Linked DNA regions of Homo sapiens: regions 1 and 2 are each linked to region 3. The links are contacts of gene promoters, found by promoter capture Hi-C in blood cells and fetal thymus (Javierre and others, 2016). All regions are on one chromosome and are shown on one strand. Each heading gives the region's core, a stretch centred on a gene start or on the middle of the fragment in contact. The rest is flanking DNA. Distances are from core to core; before and after follow the strand shown. Region 1 has its middle 86 kb from the start of ESM1. Region 2 overlaps SLC38A9 (solute carrier family 38 member 9). Region 3 holds the start of CCNO (cyclin O).

Region 1 (2,970 bases), core at 130-2,629, 330 kb before region 3:
AGCATCCAACTTAGCAAGGTTCAACATTCAATGTCTCTGCTTTGAATGGTGCAAAGGTGATGCACATTCAGTGCACTCCTTAGCTCCCGATGGGGTTGCATCTGGATAAACCCATTGTAAATTGAAAATACCGTAAGTTGAAAACACACTGTTGACTAACAATATTTTCAACTTATGATAGGCTTATGAGGTTCCTGATGGGCTTCTAGGGACATAACCCCATTGTAAAATGAGGAGCATCTGCGTCCTCATGGCTTGTCCCATGCTGCTGTCTCTGCTTAAATGTACTCTAACTGGTGAGGACTCCCATAGTCACCATAGATAACAGCTCCTCCATTCTGCATAAGCTGCTTTTTCTCCACAACATTGATAACCATCTGGTATACATAGATCCTTATTTATAGTTTTCCTTCCCACTCTAATGTAAACTCTATGTGGCAGAGACTTGGTATGGTCACTGAGCAACCCCAATGCCTGCAGCAGTGCTTGGGCCATAATGGGTTTTCAATGACTATCTGTGGAATGAATGAATGAATGAATAAGTGGATACTAAGAGTATTCATGCAATGTCTGTTTTCATGAAATTTTGATAAGCCCTCATGATCAAATTGTGGAGATATTCTAAGAAAATAATTACATCTTGATTCTTTTGAGTAGGTGAATTGCCCCTTTTTTCCCCTCAGAAAAATCTGTTGGGCAGGTAAGCTACACTCAGTAGCTTAAGATGAGTCTCAATCCTGGGACTCAAGTGTTTTAACTCCAAATTCCATCCCATTTCCGTAGCCCAACATGTATCCTTTCCTTTAGCACAGAGAAAGAAGTCTTCTTTTGGAAAGCGTCATTTCCTTTCACTGTCTCCGCTTTCTCACCTCTTTTGGAGTTTAGTCTCTTTTTGACCAACCTCAACCCAGCCTCGTCATCCCTGCACCCGGCATCTTGTTACAGGCACTAGAGTTACTTATTCAGGGCAAACCTCCACTTGCCTCTAGATCCCATTCCCTTCTGCTTCTTCAAGGCGTCTCTCTCTCTCTTTTTCTTTCTCTCCTGCAATCTTCAATATCCCCCTCTCTATTTTTCCAGCTAAAAAGGATATTCTAATCCTAAAAATCCCTTTCCTGATATTATAGTCCCTTCACCATACCTAACTTCCCCCCAACTCTTCTGATCCAACTCTTTGAAGCACATGATGTCCCCTTCTCTTTGCACCCATTCAATCAGGGCAGTATAATTTCTGTTTCCTGCTGAGCTACTGAAGGTAGGATGAGATGAGAGCAGAAAGCGCCAATCACCACACCTGATGGTACTCTCTGTTCTCATCTCGCCCTACATTCAGTAGCATTCAAACTGACTGCTCTTTCCTTGAAATCCTTTCCTTTCTTGGCTTCCATAAAGCAACAGGCTCTGTGTTAACCTCCCACTTCAGTGACTGCACCTGCTTAGTCTCCTCTGCTAGCTCCATGTCCTCTAAGCCATCTCTGCACTCAGAGCTCAGCCCTACCTGCTCTCTTCTTCTCCATCTACAAATTTTTTCCCGCCCCATGGTTTGAAGTACTACATGGAAAGGACTCCCAAATTCATACTTCTGGTTCTGAGGGGCCCCCTGGGTTTCAGCCTTACTTGTGTATCCAAAGCCCTTGTTATGGACCAAATGTCTGGCCTTCTCCCCCACCTCCCTGCCCAAATTCAAATGCTGAAATCCTAACCCTCAATGTGATGGTATTAGGAGTGGGGGCCTTGAGAGGTAATTCGATCTTGAAAATGGAGCCCACATTAATGGGATTAGTTTCCTTATTGGGAGAGACCAGAGAGCTAGCTTCCTCTCTCTGTTCTCTACCATGTGAGGATACGATGAGAAGACAGCTGTCTACAAACCAAGGAGAATGCCCTCACCAGACACTGGATGTGCAGGCACCTTGATCTTGGACTTCCCAGCTTCTAGAACTATGAGAAATAAAATGTTTGTTATTTAAGCCACCCAGTCCATGGGGCCTTATGTTATGACAGCCTGAACTGAATAAGATAGGCCTGCTTGCCATTTTCCCCCAGTTGTCAAATAGTCATCTCAAAATTAATGTGACAAAAATGGAAGCCTTGACTTCTGCTCTGCAAGCCTGGTCCTCCTCTCATCCCCTTCATCTCTGTAATAGCACCACCATCTATCTCATGGTTCAAGTCCAAACCTTACGAATCAACACTCATTCATCTCTTTTCCTTATACCCAAAGTCCTGTTAGCCCTACATCTAAACATGACTCAAATCAATCTGCTTCTCTCCATCTCTGTTGCTGCTCTAATCCAAGTGACCATCGATGCTGTGTTATCTCCCCAGGGTCTGGACCAGCAGCTGACACAGCATGTACTCAATAAGTAGTTGATGAAGAAATGAAGAAATTAATATGAAATTTTTTTCTATTTGAAGTTGTCAGTTTACCATTTTCATAGGAGAGTAATGGAAAGCCAGCCAAACTATTTTACAGCAGAACTCAGAGACCTCAAGGAAAATTTAGAAGTCAGTAAAGTGTGTATCTTAATACCCCCAAATGCCAGTCCTGCTTTTGTTCCCATGGGGACCCTTCTATTCCTCTGCCATCTTCATAATTTCTCAGAGTAAAAACCTACCCTGAAGAAAGGGGCTGGAATTCCTCACACAGAAATATAAATCAATGATAGCCACTTCAACGAGTGTCCTCACAGAGCATTTGGGAGCAAGACTTTACAATGAAGGAAGAAAGTTAAAGCAAGTCAGTGGATTGACAGCAGCCAGTGGGGATTTCTTCTGTTTCTTCTGACAGGCAGCTCTGGAGACTCAAGGCCATACGAGGTACTTCCTTCAGCCAAGGTTAGATGCAGGATTAGTCCATTAGTCCAATCCATACAGATGTTCATCGTAGGCCACACAGTAACAGGAGCAGTTGCGAAAACTGCGGGAGCTGACATTCTGAATGACACAGGGTTTCTCTCATTCTTCTAG
Region 2 (2,700 bases), core at 94-2,593, 470 kb after region 3:
CCAGTATCCTTTCATCAAAAAGAATAACACAGAACTTGGGAAAAACTTATTCAGGAAACTCTGAAACACATGAAAATTTTAAAAACCTATAAGTTAGTAAGTACAAGCATTTAGAAAAATGTCAAACTTTTACCAAAGTCTGTGTAAGAGTTTACTATTATTATTTTTGAACTTAACGAAGGTTAATAAAATTTTTATATTGTAGGGAAGAACAGCAATCCATAGAATTGTTAAGAAATGCTAGAGAAAAATTTTAATATTGATAAGTAGCCAGAACCGTATCACTCCTAAATCTCCAACAATGCATAAAAGCACTTTCAGAAAGAACTGCAAGGCATTAATTTGTCTGAATTACACACATTGGGTAATTTGAGATTTGGGCTATTCTGGTGCTATCAAGTAGTGTGTGGTGGTTGATAGCTCACAAGTAAGATTGCCTGGATGTGAATCTTGGTTCTGCCATTTATTAACTGTGCAACTTTGGGCAACTTACTTAAATTCCCTAAGATTCATTGGTTTTGGAGATAATAAAAATACTAGTCTTACAGGGTTTCGGATTAAAATGAGATAATACATATAATGTGGCTGGTACACACTGAATATTCAACAAACATAGCTATCACTTTTATTATGAATTTGGCTGTTTAAAACTAGAAAAATTACTCGTTGGAAGGACATACAAGAAGAAACTTTTTTTAAAAGAAAAAGAAAAAATATGTATTGCCTTAACTTAGCGGCCTGAACAAAATCAGCTGATGTATCTACATGCCTTTAGTATAAAGTGAGCAAACTCAGCAAGGTAAGAAAAATAAAAAGGTTGACCTTTATATAATAGAATTATTGAACTGCCACAAACAAGATAGCACTAAAGGATATCAAAAAGACAAAACTTGGTGTCATTTTTGAAGGAAAATTGAGAGAAAAACACAAGTTAATAGAAGATAGTGGGAGATGGAACTAACATTTATTTATTGAATGCCTAATACTGGCCTAATGTTTTACATGTTATTGTTTAAATCCAATAAATCCTTAGAATTTGGGAAATGGGTATTACCTTCATATTACAAAAAAAAAAAAGAAAGAAAGAAAGAAAAAGAAAGAAATTAATTGAAGCTCAGAGAAGTAATTTGTCCTAAATCACTAAGCTAAGAAAACCATACTTGGGATTGAAACCAGGTCACTTTGATTCTAAATGTTATTTCCAGTATACTCTGATGTCTGCCTTAAAAAGGAGGAGTTAGGTTGGAAGACAAAAGAAGCATCTGAAAATCAGGTCTTCTTTGTTTAGTTTTGTAAATATAAAATAATAGCTATAATGGCAAATGGCCTTAAACTCTTTTTTTTTTTTTTGGTGACGGAGTCTCGCTCTGTCACCCAGGCTGGAGTGCAGTGGCACAATCTTGGCTCACTGCAACCTCCGCCTCCCCATTTCAAGCAATTCTCCTGCCTCAGCCTCCCGAGTAGCTGGGACTACAGGTGCCTGCCACCACACCCAGCTAATTTTTTTGTATTTTTAGTAGAGACGGGGTTTCACCATATTGGCCAGGCAGGTCTCGAACTCCTGACCTTGTGATCTGCCTGCCTCGGCCTCCCAAAGTGCTGGGATTACAGGCAGGAGCCACCGTGCCTGGCTGGCTTTAAACTCTTTAAGACATAATCAGGGCTAGAATGAGTGAAATTTCATGCCTGGGTATCCGGATTACACATTAAACACCATGAATCTGTTTTTCTTGAAGCAAGCTAGTTTAGGTAAATTTCTTTTGTTGCAAAATTTTTTGTCTCAAGGCTCAATATTTCCTTACCCAGCAACAACCCTTCCAGTGGCAGTGAAACAAGGGAAAGGACAGAAGCCAAGTCAGAGTAGCAAAAACATATCTGCCTAAACAATGGCAGAAATATATGGCTATACTTTCTAATTTACTTTGTAAACCAATATACTCTGTAGTATTGGTTCCTAAACTAAACTGAGAATGTGGGTGAGTTTAGAGAGAGAAGATCCTTTCACTTTCTGGAAATTAATACTTTACTTAAAGATTGAAAGTGAAGAAACCAGGAAAGAGGAGAAATCTAGAAAGATCCTTGGATTTCAGTGAACCTTATCAAAAAGTGAAATCAAGGTTGGGGAAAAATGTAAGGGCCACTGAGGAATTAAAATTTCCAGTTTAGTCACCTATGTGTATTTGTTCTGAGCAAATCCAAAGTTCTGCAGCATAGCAGAATTAGCTATTTATTCTAAATAAGTAGAAAACTGATGATTTCAAATAACAAATCATAAATGAGGAGTTCAAAGTCCCTGGTGCCTTTCAAAGATTTATAATATTCAAGTAAATATGAAGAACTGTAAGAAAACTGGTAATTTGCAGTTGTCTCAATTAGTCAATTAGCATGATGTTAAATTTTCAACAGAAATTTAATGTCCCCTCCTTTTTTCCCCACACAGAGCCAAGGTGGAATTTTTTTATTTAAATTTTTTAATTTTTATTTTTTTGTGTAGATGGTGCAAGTTTTGTCACAACAGAAACAACTGTACTCGTTGCTCCTGAGAATTTCAGGTGACAACAGATATGCTTTCTTTTTTTTTTTTTGAGACAGGGTCTCACTCTGTCACCCAGGCTGGAGTGCAGTAGTGCCATCTGGGCTTGCTGCAACCTCCTCCCGCCAGGCTCAAGCTATCCTCCCACCTCAGCCTCTAAAATAGCT
Region 3 (2,700 bases), core at 189-2,688:
GGATTTTTCGTTTGTGGAGAAATTGTGAAGTTAAGGCTAAGGGATATATGCGTATGCAAATGTCTGATAAAATGAGTTCTGGGAACCCAGCACTGAATCGTGCGCGCTGGAAAGACGGGCGGCCAGGGAGTGGCGGGGGAGTTTGGCTGCGTCCCCAGATGCCGCGTGTACCTGTTTGATACCCCAGGTACCTGTTTGCAAGCGATGAGCAAGGAGGTGACCCCAAGCAGCTGGAAGCAGTCTGCAGCCACCGGCGTGGTGGTGAGGAAGCGGTCCAGAGTGTTCACCGTCAGGCACAGCGACTCGAAGGAGAGGCCGAATTGGCGGTGCACCGGGATCAGCCAGCTGAGCAGCTTACAGCGGGATTCCGCCGTCACCTGCCGGGAAGGAGGGGGGAGGCGGGCCCGCTGGGCTTAGGGTGGAGAGGGACTGTGGAAGGGAAGGAAGGGCCAAGAAGAATCGGGGAGCTTCCCAGGAGAGGGGCAAGAAGATTTCAGAAAGAGAAACGCAATGGAAACTGGGAAACGCGTGGGCCGTGCTGAGCCGGAACACCGGGATTGGGACCTGGCGCTGTGCAGAGAGCGTCGTACACGTTACCTCGCGTAATGGGCTCAGCAATTCAAAGGAAGGGGAGGGGTTCCATTTTGCAGATGAAGAAAGAAGCTCAGGGGTGTTAAATAACTTGCCCGAGTTCGGTAGGAGTCCAGACTCAACCCGGAAACGAATTCCTCTCTACCGTGCCCCAGTAGCCAGCTTGGGACGGGGCAAGTCCCTCAAGCCGTCTACGCCCCACTTTTCTCCATCTGTAAAATGAGGCCGGTGACGCCCCTCCACGGCCCCTTGTGCTTCGACTCGGGGCGGGACCTGGGCTGTCGCGGGCCCGGGCGCTCGGAGGGCCGAGCCGGCAGGAGAGGAGAGAGCCTGGGAGGAGAGGAAGAGCGGCGGCGTGGAGCTGGCTCTACCAGCACCTCACTTGTGGCTGCCGTGCCAGCGCCTCCCGCGGGTGGAAGTGGCTCTCCTGCGCCTTGCGGAAGGCGTAGCAGCTCTGGCCGTAGTCGCGGAAGGTCTGTAGATCTAGCTGCGCCACGGGCTGGGCCGGGCCGGGCAGGGGGCTACCACCCCGCGCCGCAGAGGGGCTCTCTGCGCCGTCTGAGCCGGAGCTGGGGGACTCGAACAGGTCGCAAATGCCGGAGTCTCCCGGGAGCGGGCACGGGTTCAGGGGATGCAGCGGCTGCTTCCTCCGGAGGCGCGGACGCCTGCTCTTCTTCACCGGGGCGCGAAGGTTCTGGTCGTTGTCCCGCCTCCCCGCTCGGGCGGCGGGGCTCGAGGGGCTGGTGGGACAGGGGGTCACCATGATGCGGCCGGGTGGCCGCTTTACTACCTTCAACGCCCGGGCTGCGGCGGGCAGCAAACGCGCACTCGAAAGTGCGAAGGAGGCCGGGCTCAGAGGCTGGCGCGGTCCTAAGTACCCGGCCGGCTCCTTCTCTCTACCACACCCCCGGCCTCTCACTGGCTGAGCCCAGAGCGGCACCGGAGCCGCGATTTTCCGGCTGGAGAACCACTCGCCTCAGGGCGCAGGCAGCGCGTCGCCTCCGCGGCCCGCCGGGGGGAGGGGGAGCTGCAGCGCGCGCCAGGCACCCGCCTTTCGCGCCTGCGTCCTGCGTTACCTGGGCAACCGGAGCCCGGGTCGCTGCGGGAGCCCGGGTCACTGCGGAGCCCGGGTCACTGCGGAGCCCGGTGCACGGAGTGGGAGTAGGGCTGCGGCGGGCGCAGCCAAGCGGCTCCGCTGCGCCGGTTAAAACATTCTCCCAGGGGGCATCTCTCTGTCCTTGGCCAGATGGTCTCGACACGTGCGGGCACCTCTAACCCAGGTCGGTAATTTTGTAAAGGTCTGATCCTGAGTTCCAAACGAAAGTCGGGCTAGAATTCTGTCGACACGGGAAAAGTTTTCTTCAGTGACCCAAACAAGCAATAGTGTTAATTCGGTTGCGTTTGTCGGTTTTGTTTCGGTGGGTACCGGAGTAGCCAGTGCCCTTCCTTCCGCCAGCCTCGGGGAGCAGAGCCTCAGAAGGGCCGTTTGTGCTGCGGAATAGATTGGAGCTCCACCAGCCAGCCACGCTTTCGCGCTCAAAACAAAACGGAAAACTGCCGGATCAACCTCAGTCGGCAAGCAAGTCTGCAGGCCGTGAAGACTTTCTCCCACACTTTTCACCCCAAGCCAAGCAAGCTGGGGCTACAGCGGTTTAAGAACATTGTTGGAAAGTTGCATTTCGAGTTTGATCGAATTGCTCACAGCCTGTTCCGTTTTAGGTCATTAGCTTCTGGCCTTCTGCCCCGCCGGCAGCCCAGTCCTTGGTTTTTCCCTGCTTCCTGCGTCCGCTCCTTCAGGGTGATAAACTCAGGGAAATTAAAGCTGGAATGGGGACGCCCAGGCCGACCGGGCGTGGCAGTTTCCTCAAGGCGCCTCGGGTTTAGTCCACAGACTCCCGTCCTGGTAGAAGCTGGAGCCCTTCTGTGGCCTGAGTGAATCTTCCTGAGGGTCTCTGACCCTATAGGAGAAGGGGCTGCAGGAGCACAAGTAGCCCATAATCAACCTCACAGGCACTTAGCAACGGCAGAAAGCTCAGGTACCCTCAACCCTGGTGTTTTCCAGAGGCGAGGCTACTGGGTGCCAAACCAAGAGCAGGTTCAGCCACCTAA

What was found. Contacts are between HindIII fragments. The CHiCAGO score rates a contact against its expected background, and 5 or more counts as called.
Region 1: a contact is called between a fragment that was not itself captured here and the fragment with the promoter of CCNO in region 3, in 1 of 17 cell types (non-activated CD4 T cells). The highest score is 5.2, in non-activated CD4 T cells.
Region 2: a contact is called between a fragment that was not itself captured here and the fragment with the promoter of CCNO in region 3, in 1 of 17 cell types (fetal thymus). The highest score is 5.1, in fetal thymus.

Annotation. Positions count from the first base shown.
Region 1 is chr5:54,898,172-54,901,141 of GRCh38, forward strand. No RefSeq gene overlaps it. Among named protein-coding and RNA genes, the nearest start is that of ESM1, 86 kb to the right of the region's middle. RefSeq lists a silencer at 1,501-1,658. The HindIII fragment of the contact is 5,239 bases long and covers 1-2,970 here.
Region 2 is chr5:55,704,375-55,707,074 of GRCh38, forward strand. All of the region lies in intron 2 of SLC38A9 (solute carrier family 38 member 9), which reads right to left. Among named protein-coding and RNA genes, the nearest start is that of SLC38A9, 6.6 kb to the right of the region's middle. The HindIII fragment of the contact is 2,954 bases long and covers 1-2,700 here.
Region 3 is chr5:55,232,170-55,234,869 of GRCh38, forward strand. CCNO (cyclin O) reads right to left here and starts at 1,439. Exons shown (of 3, transcript NM_021147.5): 1 at 974-1,439; 2 at 192-377. The coding sequence starts at 1,354. CCNO-DT (CCNO divergent transcript) reads left to right here and starts at 1,725. Exons shown (of 5, transcript NR_185977.1): 1 at 1,725-1,871. RefSeq lists enhancers at 1-257, 258-897 and silencers at 1,046-1,125, 1,372-1,666, 1,536-1,745. The HindIII fragment of the contact is 3,477 bases long and covers 1-2,700 here.